3 separate regions of the Homo sapiens genome follow, and all the other regions are linked to region 2. The links are contacts of gene promoters, found by promoter capture Hi-C in human tissues and cell types (Jung and others, 2019). All regions are on one chromosome and are shown on one strand. The core of a region is centred on a gene start or on the middle of the fragment in contact, and the rest is flanking DNA. Distances in the headings are between cores, read along the strand shown.

The links. The method cuts DNA at HindIII sites, captures the fragments that hold promoters and counts their contacts. A contact is called where the count stands out against the background at its distance.
Region 1: a fragment that was not itself captured here is called in contact with the fragment with the promoter of TMEM53 in region 2 in 1 of the 25 tissues and cell types used here (small bowel).
Region 3: a contact is called between a fragment that was not itself captured here and the fragment with the promoter of TMEM53 in region 2, in 1 of the 25 tissues and cell types used here (psoas muscle).

The regions. Positions count from the first base shown.
Region 1 is chr1:42,926,559-42,929,258 of GRCh38, forward strand. It overlaps SLC2A1 (solute carrier family 2 member 1), which reads right to left. Exons shown (of 10, transcript NM_006516.4): 7 at 2,652-2,700; 8 at 2,374-2,475; 9 at 1,047-1,250; 10 at 1-683. The coding sequence ends at 483. Among named protein-coding and RNA genes, the nearest start is that of SLC2A1, 31 kb to the right of the region's middle. RefSeq lists enhancers at 496-995, 2,027-2,669, 2,670-2,700. The HindIII fragment of the contact is 6,588 bases long and covers 1-2,700 here.
Region 2 is chr1:44,673,221-44,675,920 of GRCh38, forward strand. TMEM53 (transmembrane protein 53) reads right to left here and starts at 1,261. Exons shown (of 3, transcript NM_024587.4): 1 at 1,111-1,261. The coding sequence starts at 1,171. It overlaps ARMH1 (armadillo like helical domain containing 1), which reads left to right and starts at 1,494. Exons shown (of 12, transcript NM_001145636.2): 1 at 1,494-1,653. RefSeq lists an enhancer at 705-1,206 and silencers at 974-1,113, 1,264-1,313, 1,384-1,433. The HindIII fragment of the contact is 6,219 bases long and covers 1-2,700 here.
Region 3 is chr1:46,169,540-46,172,239 of GRCh38, forward strand. All of the region lies in intron 1 of P3R3URF-PIK3R3 (P3R3URF-PIK3R3 readthrough), which reads right to left. It also overlaps a transcript of PIK3R3 not described here. Among named protein-coding and RNA genes, the nearest start is that of TSPAN1, 4.2 kb to the right of the region's middle. The HindIII fragment of the contact is 4,459 bases long and covers 1-2,700 here.

The DNA of each region.
Region 1 (2,700 bases), core at 201-2,700, 1.7 Mb before region 2:
GGAGATCCAGGCCAGCAGAACGGGTGGCCATAGCCACCTCCTGGGATAGAAGCTTTGTAGTTCATAGTTCGATTAGTGTGTCCTTAGGACATAGGTCCAGCCCTACAGATTAGCTGGGTGAAGAAGGCAAGTGTCTCGACAGGGCTTAGTCTCCACCCTCAGGCATGGAACCATTCAGGGTGAAGCCTGGGATGTGGGCACAGGAGACTCAGGCTGATATAAAAATAACAAAATCAGTAATAAAAAAATTATAAAACCTGTTGCTTGTCTGAATAGATTTGAGCAACAGTCTTGCTTTTGTTAAAATCCTGGAGCCGTTAAGTCCTGAATATTCTTCTGGACATCATTGCTGGCTGGAGAAAGGAGCCCCAGGCCCGGCTCGGCTGACATCTGTCAGGTTTGGAAGTCTCATCCAGCTGCCTGTGCTCCTGAGAGATCCTTAGGGCTGCTGGGAGCAGGCCGGGCTGGTGATCTGGGGCGACTCACACTTGGGAATCAGCCCCCAGGGGATGGAACAGCTCCTCGGGTGTCTTGTCACTTTGGCTGGCTCCCCCCTGCCGGAAGCCGGAAGCGATCTCATCGAAGGTCCGGCCTTTAGTCTCAGGAACTTTGAAGTAGGTGAAGATGAAGAACAGAACCAGGAGCACAGTGAAGATGATGAAGACGTAGGGACCACACAGTTGCTGAAAGACACACAGACACACTTGGTTGGAGTCATGACCCTACATCCTGGCTGTAGGACTTTGGATAAGTCACTTTACCTTTGGGCCTTTGAGCTGAAAAGGGAACATCCACCTACCCAGGGATGCTATCATAATTAACTGAGACCACGCTTGTACCTAGAATGTAACAGGCTCCAGGAGCACCATTCAAGGCTAAGGGGAGAACCCTGGAGTTGAGGTCAGCATTCTTGGTCATGTGACCTGGGCTTCCTACCCTCAGTTTCCTCCTCAGCATGATTCCTAATGAGAATGCTGGGCCAGCACTTTGCACAGCACTGTGGGGTCATGCGTGCGGGTGAGTATAGAGACAGTGGGGGTTCTCACCTCCACATACTGGAAGCACATGCCCACAATGAAATTTGAGGTCCAGTTGGAGAAGCCTGCAACGGCAATGGCAGCTGGACGTGGACCCTGGCTGAAGAGTTCAGCCACGATGAACCATGGGATGGGGCCAGGACCCACTTCAAAGAAGGCCACAAAGCCAAAGATGGCCACGATGCTCAGATAGGACATCCAGGGTAGCTGCTCCTGTTGAGGATGACGGAGAGGGGGAAAAGTTAGACTGGGTTGTGATGGATCCTCAGGGGAAACAGAAGCTACAGAGGCCAGAGCAGAGCTATGCGAGAAGGCAGGAAGCCTGGGGATGGTCCTGGATTTGTTGTGTATCCAGCATTGGGCCTAAGTTTCCTCATCCGAACAAAATGATTTAAGTCCTGCAGGGTGGCTGCAAGTGTTGAGTCCACCCGCTGGGAGTGGTAATGTGGTGTGCATGTGGACGGTGCTAAGAGGCCCCATGGTCCCCTGTCTGTGCCTGCAGCACAGTCCGCCTGTGGCAGGATGCAGAACATTCCTGGGGGTGGGGTGGATTCAGGTTCTAAGGCGTGTGAGGTGCCCAGCTCAGGCTGGCACAGAGTAAGCGCTAAGCATACGGTTCTGCATATAACCATTCTTGAGGAGGCCAGGGTAGAAAATTTATGGGCTTTCCACTTGCTGCCTGTCTGGCCTTTCGGCAACCACCAAACTTTCCAAGCCCAGGTTGAGCTGTAAAATGACAGTCATGGTGCTTTCCTTGCCCAGAGGCTAAATAAACGAGTGCCTGTGTGTGAGTGCCAGGCACAGGGTTAGCACAGCGGTCACAGTCACAGGCCTGGGACTGAGGTTGATTCCTGGCTTCATCCTTTATCTGACAAGTTACTAACCTCACTGGGACTTAAGCTTCCTCCCCCATAAAATGGGAAGAACTGAACTACACCTCCAGTCGTGTGAACTGAATGAGGCAAGGCATGTTTCTGCGCCTCTATGGGGAGGACAGCACTACTTCCCGGGGTTGCTGTGAAGATGAATTGAGGCTACAGATGAAGATTGGAAAGGGTTAATATTAGGCAAAGCAATTCCTTAAGGAGGTGAGAGTTTGGGGTCTGGGACCAGAGGTGCTGCGCTGAGAATCCATCAAGCAGGGAGGAGCAAGTTCAAGAGAGGATGTGTGTGGTTTGGAAGGAGACAACTTCAGGAGCCAGAAAGTCAGACCCACAGCCAGGGAGAATGCAGCCACCAAAAGGCCTGCCAGCCTGGGGCTGAGACAGGCATTTTGGGATATGAAGCCCAGGCAAACTCTCCCGCATCCCTCACTCTCCAGAACCTAGCAACTCACCAGCAGTGCTAGCGCGATGGTCATGAGTATGGCACAACCCGCCATGCCAGCGAGGCCTATGAGGTGCAGGGTCCGCCGGCCTGCTCGCTCCACCACAAACAGCTGTGGGCAGAGACAGTGTCAGTGCCACCCCTGCCTAGTGCCCTTCTGAACCCACCCACCCAGAGGCCTTGCCTCAAGAGCTGAGAAAGTCACAGGGCACTGCAAAGACCAGTGGGGAAGATGGCACTGCCTCCTCCCTGGGGTTTGGCTGGGGGGGCCAGTAAGCAAAGACTCACCGACACGACAGTGAAGGCCGTGTTGACGATACCGGAGCCAATGGTGGCA
Region 2 (2,700 bases), core at 11-2,510:
GTCTAAGGGCTGCCCTCTCCTAGACTCCAACCAAAGAACATGAGATGCTACGGGAGGGATCTGGGAAGGCTCTCCTTAAGGAGGTAAGTTTTATGGAGAGCAGAGTATAAGATCAAACCTTTGCATTAGAAAGATCACTGTGGTAGCAGTTTAAGAGGCTGGGCTGCAGGCAGTGAGACAGGAGGCGTGAAGGCGATGCTGGACTAATGCAAGTGAGGGACACGCTGGCCTCAGGCTGATCATACTTCAAGGCCCTTCTGCCAGAATTCCCAGAGAGACCAAACTTTCCACTCTCTGGACCCCGATCTACTCACACTGTCATGGATGCGGGCCTGCTGTCAATCCTAATTTTGTGGAGAATCCTACATGTCTTTCTTTAATGTAAGGAGAGAAACAATGCTGATCGTAAATGCCAATTACTGAACTCACTCCATGCCAGGCCCTTTACACAATCTCCAGATGGCCCCAACAGCCCTATGAGGAAGGTTACTATCCTTATCCCGGTTTTGCAGAGGAGGAAACTGAAGTTCAGAGAAGGTAGCTTACCAAAGGTAATCCAGCTCCTAAAGGAAGGAGTCAGGATTTCAGTCGAGTTCTACCCGACGGCAGAGACTGCACTGTTAACCACTGCCGAGAAGAGTGGAGAGGGACGGCTAAGGGTTCTGAGTCCCGGGCTTCTGCGAGGATCGGTGACCCCGCGAGCCTCCCCCTCCACGCCTTCGGGAAAATAATAAGTGATAGGCTAGATGTGGGAAGCCCAATCCCAAACAAAGGAATCAGGAGGGATCCAGCTTTCGGCAGCCTTCAGCTATGAGAAGTGATTAAAGGGCATGGACCTGAGCACCCCGGACAGGAAAGACAGAAAAAGAGGTCCCAAGCGAGCAGCTGACTCGGGCAGAGGCGGGGCTCGCCAGGGAGGAACACTCTGGGGCGGGACTTACGAGGGGCGGGGCTCTCTGAGCCTCTCTAAGTCTAGGACCTGCCAGACCCTATGAGGGGGCGGCCCGAGGGAGGGCGGGGCCGCATGAGGGGCGGGGCTACAGCTGCGCTCGCAACCCACAGGTTCATGAGGTCACCTCCCCGCGCCTGGACCCAACCCTCATTCCATACTCTGGCTCCAGCAGGGCTGATCCGGGATCTCGATGGTGTAGTCCAGCTCTGCCGAGGCCATGGTGAAGGCGCCGGCCCAGAGCACGGGTCTCCAGCCGGAACTCCCGCTTGCGCACCCGTGCCTCACCCGGGCGCCTCCTGGGCGCCGCCCAATCACCACACACCTCCCCCAACACGGCCCAATCCCTGCGCCGCGCTCTGTGACCTCCCGCCTTAGCAACCACCGAGTCTCTTCCAGAGCCTCTCGCCTCACCCCACTAGCTCGGCCCTAGCAACCATGCCCCGCCCCTATTACTGACCCGCAGCCATTGGCTAATTCGCTTGATCTGGATCAGGTATTGGTCAGCCGGGGCGCCGGTCAGGAAGAGTCCCCACCCTCTCATGTAGGTGAGAGGCGGCTGAAGAGTTGCTGTATTCTGGGAATGGGCAGGGTCACTCGTCCGAACAGAGTCCTATCCTACGCGGCGGAAGAGTGTGCCCTTTGACTTGCATCGTCTACCTACCTCTGCCATCCTCTACCAGCCGCAACTGCGAGGGCTGGAGGTATAAAACCGTACAAAACGGCCTAGGGGGCGCGTGCCGACCCAACCTCCACCCAGTGGGGTTGAGGCATATTCTGGATGGATGGATGGATGGATGGATGGATGGGTGGATGGGAAGCAGTCTTCAGTTGATGACTTTAGAGAATGCCCTGTTGATAGGGCCCACCGAGGAGCTGGGAGTGCAACTTTCTTGCATTTATCTATATTTACATACTATGTGCCAGCATATTTACATACTATGTGCCAGAGACTGGGTGGGCTAAATAAGGTTCCTTAGGCCCTAGTGAGAATCAAGCTTTTGGCCCTCCCTCTCCCATGTCTTAACGGGAGAGGGAGAGAAACCATGCATGAAGCAACTCTGATTCTGCGTGTGAGATAAATACTACAGAAGAGTAAGGATTTGAGGAGCTCAGAATCAGAGAAGGGGCATTTATGGCAGTGGGGTTGGCTCTTGAGCTGGGCCTTGAAAGACTTTTAGAGATAGGGAGGGGGAAAGACTCTTTGCATGCCAGGCGCGGTGGCTCAAACTCGTAATCCCAGCACTTTGGAAGGCCAAGACGGGAGAATGGCTTGAAGGAGTTCAAGACCAGCCTGGGCAACATAGTGAGACCTTCATCTCTACAAAATTAAAATTTTAAAAATTAGCCAGGCATGGTAGCGCATGCCTGAAGTCCCAGCTACTTGGAAAGCTGAGGTGGGAGGATCACTTGAGTCAGGAGGTCAAAGCTGCAGTAAGCCATGATTGTGCCACTGCACTCCAGCCTGGGTGACAGAGTGAGACCCTGTCTCAAAAAACAAAACAAAGAGCCCAGTGTGGTGTCTCACCCCTGTAATCCCAGCACTTTGGGAGGCTGAGGCGGGCGTATCACTTCAGGTCAGGAGTTCGAGACCAGCCTGGCCAACATGGCGAAACCCCATCTCTACTAAAAATACAAAAATTAGCCGGGCATGGTGGTGCACACCTGTAATCCCAGCTACTTGGGAGGCTGAGGCAGGAGAATGGCTTGAACCTGGGAGGTAGAGGTGGCAGTGAGCCGAGATTGCTCCA
Region 3 (2,700 bases), core at 129-2,628, 1.5 Mb after region 2:
ATTTTAGACTTCAAAAGACAGCAAAGGAGATTTGAGGCCCAGAGATGGGATAGAACTTGCCAAAGTTCACACAGCAGGTATAAGTAGGTAGAACAGCAGGCAAGCAAGGAGAGGGAGGCAAATGGGCGTGTGAGTAGAGGTCAGGGCTGAGGTATTGAGCTGAATCCAAGGACAGACAGCTGAGCAAGAAGACCTTCAGCTGACATTGCCCCATTTCCCATGCCCAGCAGGGCCTGGCATTTGCCTGTCTTTGGAACTGCTCCTTCTGGGTTCCTGAGTTTGCAGTAGTTTCCCAGAAGTGCTAGGTAAATACCTTTGTTGTTTGCTGAATAACCAGCCCCAAAGATTGGACAAGGGTCCCCATACAAATTTTGCCTCAAGATTGGCTCCTTCTATAGAGATGATCAGCCCCCCTAGGCACAACCCCACCCAGGTGCTCTCCACAGGGTCCTCTATCAGGGCCTTGCTGGGAGCTCTGAACCCCACCACATGGAGTGGCTTCGGTGTGCATCATGTGGCTCAGGGCTTAGCACCTTTGAAGACAGTCTATTCCTCCCAGCCACCCCGAGAAAAGCATGGAGTATTTTCTGTTCGGTACCTTTCTTCCCAAAAAAGATAGCCATTCCAATATGATAAGAAGTCTTACTAACCTTTGGAAGGAAATGTCCTGGGCTGATGGTAACTGCAGTTATGGGGAAGCTGGAGATGCTGGGGTCAGCATATTATGCTACTTGATGATTCTTTCTTTAGGTTATGTTTTCTTTGTTTGTATAATTCTGCTTTCTCTATCCCCACCTGCTGCCCCCTGCCCCTCATCTTCAGGAACCAGAAATGTGTTCTCATGGACAAAGTCTGTCTTCTGTCTGGTTTGGTGTTTGTTTGTTTGTTTGTTTGTTTTGAGACAAAGTCTAGCTCTCGTCCCCCAGGCTGGAGTGCAATGGCATGATCTCGGCTCACTGCAACCTCTGCCTCCCAGGTTCAAGCGATTCTCTTGCCTCAGCCTCCCAAATAGCTGGGATTACAGGTACCTGCCACCAAGCCTGGCTAATTTTTGTATTTTTAGTAGAGACGGGGCTTCACCATATTGGCCAGGCTGGTCTCAAACTCCTGACCTCAGGTGATCCACCAGCCTCAGCCTCCCAAAGTGCTGGGATTACAGGCGCGAGCCACCGCGCCTGGCCCTGCCTGGTTTAAGCTTATGTGTCCCAGGCTCCCTACCTCCCCTCAGTGTTCATGTGTGGACACCTTTGCCTATCCCCAGCAGGAAATCCTCTAGTTTAGACAGCCACCTGAATGTAAGGGCTTTATTAATTGATTTCTCAAGATGTCCATTTCAAGGATATTCTAATTTTGTCATCTGGAACTCAGTAATGCCACAATTCTGAATTTCTTAGTTTCTATAACCCAGATTTTACCATGCTGGAATTCTGTGATGCTAAGATTCCATAACTGTGAACTCCATGAATCTAGAATTTCATGATTTTTTAAAATTGTGTTTAATGAATTTTGTTGGTAATAGTAGTCAGCACTCTCTTGGCCTCAGTTTTGTGTTTGTTTTCTAGAAGTTGCAAGTCTCAGCTCCAGGCTCTCTTCTCTGGGCATGCCGGTGCAGAGGAAGGTCATTTCCACCTCTCCCGAGGCTCAGGGGTTGGGATAGTACCCAGGGAAGCCCAGTCCTAGGGCCCAACACTCAGTCTACTCCCTCTCTACTGAAAACTCTTACTTGGGCTTCAGTACCTGAGGGTAGCAGGAAAAGCAGTCTCCTTTGCAGTCCTTCCACCCAGCTTCCTGTCCTCCTTGCACTGCCCCATGGTCCAGGGAGAGAAAGTTTTGTGGGAGACTGCCCTGGCTGAATGGGTAGGTGTGGGAAGAAGGGTTAAGCACTGGGCAGAGAGCCAGTGGAGGAACCAGGGGACATTCCCTAGGGAGCCCTGCAGCCTTCCCCAGAGGTGAGGAAGGAACAGAGGCCGGAAGTGGGGGTGTGGGTGAGGGCACTGGTAAGGGTGGGGTGACCGGTATTGCATTGTGGGGTTGGAGCTGGGCTTCCGGCCATTGACCTATTAGTGACAAGCGACCTCCAGCCTGGCGCCCCAGGGGCTGTCTGTTCGTGCCCTTACCCACTGACTCTGTGTTCCTGTGCCTGAGTCAGACTCCCAGGAAAATCTCGGGGGCAGGAGTTGGGGTCTGGGGAACCTATTTCTCTAGAGCGGAGCCACAGAGGCGAAGAGAGGGGCCAGGACACTCCAAGGATCAGATCAGGGCTTGGGGCAGAACCAAGACTGAAGCTCCGGGCTCCTGCCTCTAGCCCAGAGCTGTTCTCTTCACGGTCCAAAGGGTCCCAGAATTATAAAGTAATACTCCCCCAACTAGCCAGGTGGTGAAACTCAGGGCTAGAGGAAGAGCCCGTGCTAGGCTGCCTCCCAGGAGCAGCCTGGACCTTCTTCCAGTCCTGCAGCACATGGCTGAAGCTGCCAAACCCGATTTTCCAGTGGCTGCCTGAGGCTGGCTGGAGCGGGAAGCCCTCCTCCTGGCATGAACCCTCAGGCCATCATCCTCCTCCCCCTCACCTCCCGATTCGGTGGCTTGGCCTGGCCTGCTCCTCCTGCACCTGTGCCAACTGTCCCAGTGTGCCACCACTTCCTTCTCCACCTGCCTGCCATCTCCCCTGGGCTGCTCCCCAGGCACTGTGAGGTGTGGTCC